Linked DNA regions of Homo sapiens: all the other regions are linked to region 1. Evidence: promoter capture Hi-C in 16 types of primary human blood cells and fetal thymus (Javierre and others, 2016). All regions are on one chromosome and are shown on one strand. The core of a region is centred on a gene start or on the middle of the fragment in contact, and the rest is flanking DNA. Distances in the headings are between cores, read along the strand shown. Region 1 holds the start of RC3H1 (ring finger and CCCH-type domains 1). Region 2 overlaps RABGAP1L (RAB GTPase activating protein 1 like). Region 3 overlaps PRDX6-AS1 (PRDX6 antisense RNA 1).

Evidence for each region. Contacts are between HindIII fragments. The CHiCAGO score rates a contact against its expected background, and 5 or more counts as called.
Region 2: a contact is called between a fragment that was not itself captured here and the fragment with the promoter of RC3H1 in region 1, in 1 of 17 cell types (neutrophils). The highest score is 7.4, in neutrophils.
Region 3: a contact is called between a fragment that was not itself captured here and the fragment with the promoter of RC3H1 in region 1, in 2 of 17 cell types (fetal thymus and monocytes). The highest score is 5.8, in fetal thymus.

What each region holds. Positions count from the first base shown.
Region 1 is chr1:174,019,979-174,024,203 of GRCh38, reverse strand. RC3H1 (ring finger and CCCH-type domains 1) reads left to right here and starts at 1,847. Exons shown (of 20, transcript NM_172071.4): 1 at 1,847-2,108. RC3H1-DT (RC3H1 divergent transcript) reads right to left here and starts at 1,721. Exons shown (of 2, transcript NR_187284.1): 1 at 1,564-1,721; 2 at 1,014-1,421. RefSeq lists silencers at 1,612-1,861, 1,972-2,291 and enhancers at 2,498-3,037, 3,102-3,221. The HindIII fragment of the contact is 5,810 bases long and covers 1-4,225 here.
Region 2 is chr1:174,737,582-174,741,806 of GRCh38, reverse strand. The region is part of intron 17 of RABGAP1L (RAB GTPase activating protein 1 like); the gene reads right to left. Among named protein-coding and RNA genes, the nearest start is that of RABGAP1L-AS1, 210 kb to the left of the region's middle. The HindIII fragment of the contact is 537 bases long and covers 1,516-2,052 here.
Region 3 is chr1:173,417,694-173,421,918 of GRCh38, reverse strand. It overlaps PRDX6-AS1 (PRDX6 antisense RNA 1), which reads left to right. Exons shown (of 2, transcript NR_125960.1): 2 at 3,297-4,130. The region is part of intron 2 of LOC100506023 (a long non-coding RNA gene); the gene reads left to right. It also overlaps a transcript of TNFSF4 not described here. Among named protein-coding and RNA genes, the nearest start is that of PRDX6-AS1, 42 kb to the left of the region's middle. RefSeq lists enhancers at 1,540-1,639, 3,398-3,737. The HindIII fragment of the contact is 1,686 bases long and covers 1,671-3,356 here.

The DNA.
Region 1 (4,225 bases), core at 598-3,097:
GTGCAATGGCGTGATCTCGGCTCACTACAACCTCCACCTCCCAGGTTCAAGTGATTCTCCTGCCTCAGCCTCCCGAGTAGCTAGGACTATAGGTGCACGCCACCACACCTGGCTAATTTTTGTATTTTTAGTAGAGATGGGGTTTCTCCACGTTGGTCAGGCTCCGGACCTCAGGTGATCCGCCCCCCTCAGCCTCCTAAAATGTTGGGATTACAGGCGTGAGCCACTGCATCTATCTGTCCTTTAACGTATTTTTAATTGAAATATTGACGAGATAAAAATAAACAACGTAAAAATCATACTGCTTAAGGGAACCTTTAAGGAGCCTTACCAACTGTGGTATAACTATTAATAGTTCAAAGAAATTACATTATCTAGGTTACTTGCAATGGAAGTTGAGTTACTCGCTTCACCTAAACAAGGAAGTTGGCATGTTTGCCTAGCAACAGTCGCTAAAACCTTCTGTTGTGGAAGGTTCCCTAGGAGTGAGAAGAAGGGAGGAGGAGGAAAAGCAGGAGGAGCAGATTAATCTGTTTTTCCTAGCAGGGTACAGAGGCCTGGTCTGAGAAGGGAAAGGCTTTAAGAGATCCCTTTAGATTGGCACATGCTAACCTAAATCCCCCTGTGGTAGCTAGAAATTCACTCTCTGTAGGACTGGGGTTACTATTTAGTAGGCTGAAAAGACGATTACAGATTAAACCCAGTTCAGAGGCAGCAAATTCCAATCAGTGGAAAGACAACAATAGGTCTTCTAAACAGAAGCTGAGATCTCAGTAGCAGGAGGGTGCTAACAACTAAAAAGAATTCTTCTCTGCCAAGAGTTTAGGAAGGTGTGTGATATTTCTTAAAAATAATACAAAAACACTATCTGTGATAGCGATTCCAATGTATCAAGTTAAAGGCAGAAGTGCTTCTCTTGGGGTACTGTGATGTAAACAGTGAAGAAAGGACAGAAAAACATAATCTCTGCTCTCTTGGTCAAATCCTGAAGCAAAAAAGGTGATAGCGCCGAGTAGAGGTATTAAATGGTTGTTTATTTGGGGACTCTCTCTCTCCTCTATTCTAGATGATTTATTTTGAAATTAGTACTGTATGGTGTTACAATAATCCCATTTCTTCCCCTTCTCAAAAGCGAGGGTTTGGCTAAAATGAATTGTCTGAAGGGACCTCCCATTCCCCAAAACCAAAACGGCACCTTTTCCACAAGGGACAAGAAACTTTTAAAGAGTCGCAAGGTTAGATTTCAGGAGCCCTTCTATGGGCCATATCTTTTCCTGTCGTCCCCAAATAGCTCTTATTGTTCACACAGCCCAGGAGAGACGTTTTGGAGTAGCGTGTCCGGGCCTTTTGGGCTGTTTCACAGCCTTAGGAGGCTGAACTCCCAGAGGGGTGACGAGGACAAAGCTGATGAGATCCAGAACCTGGATAATATGGAAGAAGAAAAATGGGGTGGGGGACAAGACGTGAAAAAGAAACAAGAGTTGGGGGACAACGGCTGAGAAAGCCGAAAGAGTAGACGTAGTGTGGGGTTCGATGGAAACGAAAGAAATTCCCCCAATTTACTCTCGCCATCTGGCCACTGGCCCGCTGAGCCCAAAGGCGCCGGTGCGGGAGGGCAGACCGGACCGAGGGACCGGTTCATCTGCTCAGGGCGTGTGAGACTTTCGGTCGCGGCGGAGAGCGTCGCCGGTCTCCCTCCGGGCGTTGGTGGCCGGTGACTCAGAGCTTTGCTCCCGCGCCCGCCCCTCCCCTCCGCCCGCCCCGCCTCCTGAGGGAGGATCCTCGCCCTCGTCTCCGCCCCAGTCTCCGGGGCGGGCCGGAGCCTGAGGAAGAGGAAGGGGACGAGGACAACGAGCGACTGGGCGGCGGAGGACGAGGAGGAGGAAGAGGAGGCCGAGCAACAAGATGGCCCCTGCTGCAGGAGCAGCCTCAGCAGCAGCAGGTGGGAGGCCGGAGGCGGTGCTGGCGGTGGCGGCGGCAGCCGTGGCCCGGCGGCCTGGGACAGAATCAGAGTCAACGGTGGCCTCGGCGGCGGCGGCGGCTGCCGCGGCGGTGGCGACGGCCGCGGGGACTCGGAGCTGAGAGGAGCTGCTGCTCGGACCAGCGCGGTGAGCGAGCGGCGGGCGGCGACTTGGGGAGCGGGGCTGCCGCGGCCGGGGCCTCAGTCGGGAACAATAGGCAGCTGTGGTCGGGAAGGGTTTGTCCTCGCCCGCCCTCTGCTCCTCCGCGGCAGCGGCAGCCCGGCCGGCCCCAGGCTCCTCAGGGCCCCCGCCGGCTGTTCTGGGGCTTGTCAGTGGCCGGCGTCCTTTAGGCCTCAGGCCTCTGCATGCCGCCTGTAGGGCCTGTCGGGGTAGGTAGGCCGAGAGGAGGACGAAGGGAGGCTCGGACGAGAGGGAGGGGGCGAAAGGGCTACCTGGCTCCTGTGGTACTCCCAGGGCCTGGGCCAGGCGGGGAATGCGCACGGGAACTGCTTTTTGGACCCCTAGTCTGTGGGGGTGGGGGAGGGCGAAGGCGTCTGTAAACAGGCGCCGCCTCGGCCTCCCAGCACCTCAGGGCTGCTTCCTCCCCCAGCCCCTGAAGCGCTCCCCTTCTTTGGCCAAGTGGATTTCACGGTGTCTGTTTCCCTGAAGTCCCTGGAGATCTAGCCTGGTAGTCTTCTCCCTGCTGGCGATGGGAAAATTGTGTGTGTGCAGGTGTCTTTAAAAAAAAAAAACAAAAAACTTAAATGCAACAAAAACATATAAAATGTGGTTATCGGTAAAGGATGGAGTGGTAAGGGATGCGCCTCTCTAAACATCTCTAAGTATCAGTTCTATAAACATCAGTTATGCCCGCATCCCAGGTGAGAGTGGATTGAAACAAGGGCTCTTTTGGAACAGTAATAACACAACTCTTGACATACCAGAATAGCCTATGAAACTGGAAACAAACACTGGCAACGCGGAGACAAACTGTAATGTTTAAAGAGGACTTTTATTCCAGCTAGGCGTTTTGAATTACTAACATGCAGTATAAGAAGCAACATTAACTAGCATAAAGTGGACCTCAGGAAGCACTTCGAAAGGAGACAGGTGGTTCATCTCCGGCCATAGAGCTTCTTGTGCCTTGTCTCGTGTTTCAGTAATTTTTCCTGAAATTGTTCAAGACCAGTCTTTTCTCTGAGTTTGAAATTTGATTTCGTTTTTGTTTTGTTTTGCGACGGAGTCTTGCTCTGTCACCCAGGCTGGATTGCAGTGGCACAATCTCGGCTCACTACAGCCTCCACCTCCCGGATTCAAGCGATTCTCCTGCCTCACCATCCGGAGTAGCTGGGATTACAGGCGCCCGCCACCATGCCCGGCTGATTTTTGTATTTTTAGTAGAGACGGGGTTTCACCATGTTGGCCAGGCTGGTCTGGAACTCCTGACCTCAAGTCATCTGCCCTCCTCCGCCTCCCAAAGTGCTTGGATTACAGGCGTGAGCCACCTCGCTCAGCCTTAAACTTAATTTTTCAAGGCTTCTACCACATTTTCTTACAAGTGAGGGAAAAGGTAGATTTATTTCTAAAGTACTTTCTACCTAGGTATGCAGAAATTTATATTAAAATCGCTTGGATACATCCAAGGAGATTGCTTTTCACTTGTTAACATTCAACTGCAAGGCCTAAGGGTTATAGGTTGTGTTCTTTTCAGCACTGACCTGTGCTGAAAAGATGCCAGTTAATATCTTTCACCTCTTCTAAGGGTAAATTTCTAAGTAGAATTGGTCCAAGTCTGTTCTAATTAAAAACATTATAAGCAGCACTAGTCTAGTTCTTAGTTCTTCCACAACAATTGACACTGAATAGATTAGCAATTGAATAAACATAAAGGTTGAATTTTCTTGTTTAGGATTTGAAGTATAGTGAATGAATATCAATACTGACCTTCATTTTATGCTTAGCATAAATAATGTTGGAGATGTTTTGATTTTTTGAATGATGGAGAAATAACAACTTTCTATGGCTCCTGATGTTGTGACTTTTTTGCAGATATTTCAGAAAGGACACCGTTTTTCAGGTGCTCAAATCTGTGATTTTTTTTTTTTTTCTGTGCTAATTTTGTTAGGTCAGCACAGATTCCAAGTAAAGTCTGTGTTATAATGATACTTAAATTTATGTATGGCCCTAAACCTATTAGAACAATTGTAGTAATTTATAGGTTGTAAGTTTTAAGTGGTTCATGTGCTGTGTTATGAAAACAATCT
Region 2 (4,225 bases), core at 535-3,034, 720 kb before region 1:
CTTAAAAAAAAAATCCTTAAAAATGCCACAACATGGTATAAAAGTAGCCACATAGACCAGTAGAACAAAACAGAGAACTCAGAAATAAAGACACATAGTTACAGCCAACTGATCTTCAACAAAGCCAACAAGAATTTATACTGGGGGCCGGGTACAGTGGCTCACACCTGTAATCCCAACACTTTGGAAGGCTGAGGCAGGAGGATTGCTTGAACCCAGGAGTTCAAAACCAGCCTAGGCAACAGAGTGAGACCCCATCTCTACAAAAAATAAAACACCAGTCAGGTGTGGCAGCAAATGCCTGTAGTCTGAGCTACTTGGGAGGGTGAGGCAGGGGGATCATCTGGGCCCATGAGGTTGAGGCCACAGTGAGCAGTGATCATGCCACTGCACTCCAGCCTGGGTGACAAGGCAAGACTCTGTCTCAAAAAAACACAAAAACAAACAACAAAAACTTACACTGGGGAAAGGACAATCTCTTCAATAAACGGTGCTGGGAAAATTGTATAGCCATGCAGAAGAATGTAACTGGACCATTATCTCACCATATACAAAAATGAACTCAAAGTAGATTAAAGACTTAAAAGTAAAACCTGATACTATAGAAATATTAGAAGAAAAAATCTAGGGAACCCTCTCCTGGTTGTTGGTTTAGGCAAAGAATTTGTTACAAAGGCCTCAAAAGATCAGGCAACAAAACCAAAAATAAGTGATTGGGAATTAATTAAACTAAAAAGCTCCCACACACAAAAAAAAAAAAACAAAACAAAAAAATCAACAGAGTGAAGAGACAACCTGCAGAATGGGATAAAATATTTGCAAATTATTTATCCAACAGGAACTAATATATAGAACAGATAAGGAACTCAACTCAACAGGAAAAAAACAAATAATCCCATTCATACTTGGGCAAAGTATATGAATAGCCATTTCTCAAAAAAATAAATACAAACAGCCAACAGGTATATGAAAAAATGTTCAACCTCATGAATCATCAGAGAAATGCAAATCAAAACCACAATGAGATAGCATACCTCAGCCAGAATCCCTATTATTAAAAAAGACAGATGTTGACAAGAAAGTGGAGAAAAGGGAACTCATATACACTGTTGGTGGGAATGTAAACTAGTACAGCCACTATGGAAAACAGTATGGAGATTTCTCAAAAAAATAAAAATATAATTACCATTTGATCCAGCAATGCCACTACTGGGAATCGACTCAAAGAAAAAGAAGTCAATATATCAAAGAACTCACATATATACAGTTAGGAGGCTTTAAAACACTCAAGAAGTGGTATGTAATTTTGCCTGGAAACAGCTGATGAATTGAGCAAGAGGCTGTACCGAGACTGACACACCAGGAAATGCTATGCATAGTAAACTTTCATCCCTCCAAGGGGTGAAGTCCTAGGTTTATATCATGTTGGGAAACCAGTAATGAGTGTATTCATCTTTGGGGACCCTTTCTCTTCTGTCCTCATCCATTTATATATAGGTAAATGTTAGTGAAGCTTAAACACTAGGGAAAGCAGAGACAGAAGTGATTTAAGAGAATAACATTGAAAAAGAGTACACAAGAGAGGGTTTGTAAAGTTATATAAACGACTCCACTGCTACCAACCATGTCTCTATGAAGATGTAAGAAGGATGTTACTAATTATAGGAACTCACAATTTTAAAAAATCACCAGCAGGAGCAACTCCACCCTTTCCTCTACCTTTTCCCCCTATCACCTAGAGACACTAGCAGCCTGGTACACATAAAAATACAGAGTGAACTTTAAGAATCATAATAATATACCCTGAGGATCGCTAAGGAGCCTAAGTTTCTTTCTGCCACAGGGGATCTAGCATCTTTCTGCCAAGAAGTACAAAAGACTAAACATACCACTTCACAGTAGTATATTGCGTAGTAAATCTTAATTGCTATGCCACCATCTGTATAACACTTTACTGCAAAGCACTTTTGAGTATATAGTTTCATTCAACTGTAAAAATATTAATCCGGCATATAGGCCATTATTAATTACCTCCATTTTACAATGCAAGCTTAAATATGTTAGATGATTTACCTGAGTTCACAGAATTAAGACTGGAATGACAAGTTTCCTGATTATAATTCAGTTCTCTTTCCATTAGACCATTGGCTCTCAACCATGGCTGCTTATTAAAATCACCTGGGGAGCTTTCATAACACACAGAGGCAGGAGATCCATCTTAGGTCAAATAAATAGAAATTTCTCAGGAGTAGAATGTGGTCACTTGTATTTTTAAGAACTTCCAGGAGTTTCTAGTATGAAACCAGACTGAGAACTGAGCATTACCAAGTTTTCAAGCAATCATGATAATTTAAGAGCATAGTTTTCCTATTTGCACTTATCCATCTATACATCAGGGATATGTAAAATCTACAACTTCTAACCAGTGAATCATAATTATCAACTTTTTTAGAAAGCACAAATAAGCTTCTAGTATATTTTCAGTTAAGTAATTTATCTAGCAAACCATTTTCTATTAGTAATTAGCTTTTATGGAACAAAATATCCACAACTTTGGGTACTAAAAGTATATCTAGTCATATTTAACTGTAAAATTTATTTAAACCGTAAAATGGATGAGAGTGCTTGTTCCTTTATTAGGAGCCAAGCAAGAGAAAGGTACCTATCTAATGGAGGCAGATAATTAAATCACTCATGCTGAAAGTTCTTTCCCAAGTAACCCTGTCCTCACATCAAGCAGTTATACTAGAAATCACAGATCTTCCTGCCATAGTGAGGAGGAGATGTCTCCATTTAAAAAAAGATGGAAGAATTAGTTTAGTTAATTGCTCTGAGATCTACTAAATGACAAAACAAAAACAATTTAAAAGTGAGAGCTACAAGGCAAAGAGACCTAATTAGCAAAGAAAATTGTAGCAACAGTAATATAGCGGTTGCTGCAAAAATTTTACAATTATGGGGAAAGGCTCTATAAGCCCTGTGAAATTCATTCCCATTTAAACATAGTATATTGAACCTAATATTAAACGGTCTGCAAGTTCACAATAGAAGTTCATTAATACTATACTATAAATCAAAAGCTTTAGAGCAGGAGTTAGAAGATCCATATCACAGTTTCATTTCTGCCACCAACTAGCTTAGTTAAGTGTCTCAACCTCCCCCATGTGTAAGATTCCTAAACAGTAAATTGAGGAGTACCAGTTAAGAATAACAAAAGAGATTTGTTAAAAGTTCAGATTCCTGGATCCCACCCTGGATAATTCTGATTCATTAAGTCTAAGACGGGTATTAACATCTACTGTATTTTAGTGCCACCCACCCCACTCTGCAGACCCTAGAAACCACTGATTTCTATATATTTTACAAGGTAAGAGAAGTCAAATAAGAAAAATGTAGAAATACTGGTATAGGTCAACTGAGGAGGGCCTTATACAAGTAGGCCTGAATTCCAATTCCTTATTCCACCATTCCTGCTTCTACCCCTGAAATTCATCGCAGCAAAACTGCTGGGGGGAAATAACCAGTGAAGTGTCTTTCTGATTACTTCCTGAGTGTCTTCCTATTTCTCTAACTGGGATTTAATTTCCCAGGCGCCTTGTGGCAGGGACCCCATTTCTTTCTCTCAGATGGCCAACTGACCAGGACAGCTCAGTTCAAGGTAATCTCCTCCTTGAAACATCTCCTAACTTCCAATCCCATTAAAGAGATGTATTAATGTCAGCCCATGATGCCACCAAACATGGTGGGGATTTCTGTCCCTTCCAAATCTTATGTCAAAATGTTATCCCCAACATTGAAGGGGGGACCTGGTGGGAGGTGTCTGGATCATGGAGGTGGTTCCCTCATGAATGCCTTAGCACCTTCCCCTTGGTGATGAGTGAATTCTGGCTCTGGTAGTTCACACAAGATCTGGTTGTTTAAAAGTGTGTGGCACATCCCCCATCTCTCTCTTGGTCCCGCTCTTTCCATGTGATATGCTGGTTCTCCTTCACCTTCTGCCATGATTGTAAGCTTCCTGAGGTTCTCACCAGGAGTTGAACAGATGTTGGTGCCATGCCTGTACAGCTTGCAGAAACATGGGCCAAATTAAACCCCTTTCTTTGAAAATTACACAAAGTCTCAGGTGTTTCTTTACAGATGTGCAAAAATGGTGTAACATAAAAATTGGTACCAAGGAGTGAGGGGTTGCTATTAATACCTGAAGATGTGGGAAGCAGCTTTGGAA
Region 3 (4,225 bases), core at 1,264-3,763, 600 kb after region 1:
CCAACAACAAAAAGTTTTGATATCCTCATAGTGCAATGACATTACAGTTTTATTTTGTTTTGTTTTTTTCTTTATGCGTAGTTCTAAATTACTGTATTATGTTTCAGGTAATTAAGCCAGAAGAACAAATTGGGATGGACTGTTGTATTTACATTTCAGTTTACTAGAGGTAGCCTTGAAATAGTTACAAAAATATGAATATCAGTGGGGAAAAAAATAAGGGGGATTTTCATTTTTTTTTTTCCAGAAACGATAAATTGGCAAGGAAGACAGATACGGGAAAATCAGTCATGAGAATTTGTCTTTCAGTGACTCTTTCTTGGCTGGGAAGAAAAGCTTTTCTTCTATTTAGTTGAGAACAGTGACAAGGATTATTTTACTTGAGGATGGCAGATTATTTTACCAGCAGCTGGCAGATGAGAATAATTCCCTAGACAACAAGGAGGGGCAGTATGGTAGGGAGGGAACCCGGTTCGGAGGGTCTGGGGTTCACAGCTCCACAGTGCTGCTTACCAGCTCTTAGCCTTCATTACATTGCTTACCTTCCTGGAGGTTCAGTTTCCTTATCCATAAAATGGGGGTCAGGTTGCCAAATTTATCAAATAAGAATCTAGGATGTCCAGTTAAAGCTGAATTTCAGATAAATAATTATTTTTTAGTGTAAATATGTCCCATAAAATATTTATGTCCCATGCAATAACTATGTCCCTAATGGTGCGTGGGACATATGCTAAAACATTATTTGTTGTTTATCTGAAATTCAAATTTAACTGTGCGGCCTATATTTTTTCTGGCAACCCTAAATGCGGGCAGGGGCAGTGGTGGTGACATGTAGGGATGGTGTGAGGATAAAATAATACCACAGTTAGGTTTTATCGCAGTGTGTAGTCTGTGTGTAGTCAACACATAACTATAAGTAGTGACTGTAACATAACTGTAACTGGTGCATAGTAAAAAACAAATGGATATTATTAGTATAATAGTTGTTATTAATAAAGGTCTTTAAATGACAATTGGCCATACAGGAGCCTTTGGGGAAAAGTTTCTGACTCTAAATTAAGGGAAGGTAAATTATGATCAAGATCTGGGAATAAGATTTAGACTTACACAGTAATAATTTGAGGAAGAGAAAGACTTAGTAAATTAGTTATGTAATTACATAATTAACAACTTGGGAGGTTTTCTTTACACGTTTATTCCCTAGGGCATCATCTTTAAATTATATTTAGTTTTTGCTAAGTTGACCAGTTTGTGGTTTTAAGTGTTTACTTTCTTTTCTTTTGAAATGTAGGGAAAGCATATTTGACATCATCTTAAAGAAATTATGTAGCCATATAAAACCGGAGGGTAGGGTCTACTGGCCAGGAAAAAAAAAGGCCTTTACTGCCACCTGGTGGCCATATTCTTTAACTGCAATGTGCCTAAGTGAGGCTGGAAAGGAAAGCGTTGGAAAACATGCTAAACCCAGAGGGCACCAAGGCCGCGTCATGACAGTAAGAGCCGTCAAGTACTGTGTCCTTTCCCTCAGTTCTCAATCTCTCACAGCTTGAGGCTTGAGAATTAGCAGCTGGCTACGAGAGGTGGAGGAGAGAAAATGGTGAAGTCCATGCCTTCCTCCTTGGTACCGAGTTTCCAAACCTGAAGTGAAGGAGTCTGAGAGGGGAGAAGCTTCAGGTTGAGTAGACTGTTTTTTACTTTTTTTTTTGTTTGTTTGTTTTAAAGAGCCTCTTTATTTAATGGCTCAGAGTGGCTAGAAAATCCGTGGTATTGGTTAGCTTTCATCTCAAGTGCAGGGACAAGGCAAATCCAGAGAGAGGAGTTGAAAGGACAAAGAAAAAAGAAAAAAAATTGCTTTTTACGTGCATTTTGCTGCATGCAGCTCACTCAATAAACATGCGTTAAATGCATAAATATATCATGAGGTAAAAATCGGGGGAAAGGTGATGCATTGATGCTGATAGAGGACAGGCAAACTGCATTCCATTTGGACCGCAGCCTCTCATCCCCCCCCCCGCCACACAAACTAAGGTCAAAATCAGGGAGGGAGTCCAGGGTAAAGTTATCAGTAGAGTCAGCTCTAGGAGCTATAGTTAATCTATTTTAAAAAATCTTAAAAAACCCATAAGTCCATTATAGCAGGGACATAAAGCAGTCCTAGCCTCCTGACCCTGACCCAGCCATGGCAATCAGGGCTGCTTCCTTTTATTCTCCCTTGTGTCCTCATGGGTCTTTCCAAGCCCTGCAGGGAAGGGTGGAAGCTGGTTCCATCAGTGCCTCTCCCCCAGCTTCCACCCTCCTCTCTCTTCTGTGACCTCTCAGTTTTCCTTCTCTGTACCCCAAATCATGCCTGTCTTAGTCCATTGCTGTAACAGAATTCTACAGACTGGATCATTTATAAAGACAAGAAATTTATTGCTTATAGTTCTGGAGGCTGGGAAGTCCAAGCACATGGTGCTGGCATTTGGTGAAGGCCTTCTTGCTGCATCCTCACGTGGCAGAGGGCATCACATGGCAAGTGGGCAAGAGCAGGCTTGTCCGCTTGGGTTACTCTAACTCTTCTTTTTTTTTTTTTTTTCTGAGACGGAGTCTTGCTCTGTCACCCAGGCTGGAGTGCAGTGGTGTGATCTCAGCTCCCTGCAAGCTCCGCCTCCCAGGTTCAGGCCACTCTCCTGCCTCAGCCTCCCAAGTAGCTGGGACTACAGGTGCCCGCCACCACACCCGGCTAATTTTTTTGTATTTTTTTGGTAGAGATGGGGTTTCACCGTGTTAGCCAGGATGGTCTCGATCTCCTGACCTCGTGATCTGCCCGCCTTGGCCTCCCAAAGTGCTGGGATTACAGGCGTGAGCCACAGCACCCGGCCAGGTTACTCTAACTCTTCTTATAAAGCCACCAGCCCCACCGTGGGGGCCACACACTCATGGCCTTATTTAATCTTAATTACCTCTCAAAGGCCCTACCTCCAAATGTCATCGATATGTGAATTTGGGAATTAAGTTTCCAGCACATGAAATTTGGGGGTCACATTCAAACCATAGCAATGCTTAACCTTAGAATACTGCCTGGCATCTGCCCAGGCTTCCACAGCCACTACCTCTGGGACATGTTGGGATCTCTGTTTACATGTAAGGCTCGCCATGACCATTACACATCTGTGAGTCAGTGTAGGGTCCTGGTGGAAGCCCGGTCTTGGAGTCCCTCCATTATGTTTGCTACCCTGGCTCTCCACCTTCAATTTCTGGCTTCTCATTTTGGACTATGATGATTTTCTTGTTGTTAATTTTTTTTTTTTTTTTAGTATGAAAGTTTTCAAGACGCCTACAAGTGGAAAATGCACTCCTCCCAGCCAAATCAAGCTTCGCCAGATTCCTTACAGCTGTGTGCAGTGAAATGACTAATGAAAGAGCCCTCTGCTGCTGGTGGAACTTTCACATATGGCACTGTTATGCCACTCAGCAGGACCCGACCCTGGTATTTACATATTGGATGTCACCCCAAAAGCCCCTGACCAGGGGGTTTCCGGGATGTAATAAGAATGCCACTCTGGGCTTTGGAAGGTGCACCGTATGCACACCCATACTATAGGGCAGGGGTTAGCATTTCAGACCCCTGTTCCTCCCTTGACAAGCAAGTGCTTTTCTCCAGGGAAGACGTTCAGGTTCATTCATAGATCCATTGGTGCCGTGGGCAGCTCAGTAACAATAGCTCTGCTGCCTACCAGCTGCTGGTGGAGGTGTTGAGAATACCTAATGAGGAAGTCAGGGCCCCTGCGTGCTTCAGCAGAGCTGGATGCCTGGCATGGCAATCAATGGACACAAACCTTTGGATAATTTCCGTCCTTGGCGGTGTGTTCTATAGCATAGGTATGAAGTGGGTGCTCTGGGAGCTCAGAAGAGGGGCTCTTCTCTTAACTTATGGGTGGCCAGGGAAGGCTTCCTGGAGCTCAAATGACTGAGTGGAGTCTTCAACATTAAAAAAAAAAAAAAGAAAAAAAAAGTGCTTCCCTCCCACCCCCAGTTAAAAAGGTAATACACCTCATTGAAATAATTTAAACTTTACAGAAATGTGTTCCTTTAAAGTTCAGAGAGTAAAGAGGAAGTAATAAAGCTGAAATAGTAGAATTTCTAATTAACTGGAGCCTGTAGCTTTCTTCCTGAAAAGGGAGTGGTGTGTGTGCATGTGTGAGTGTGTGTAGGTGAATCTGTAAAGGATGGAGTAGTACTAAAA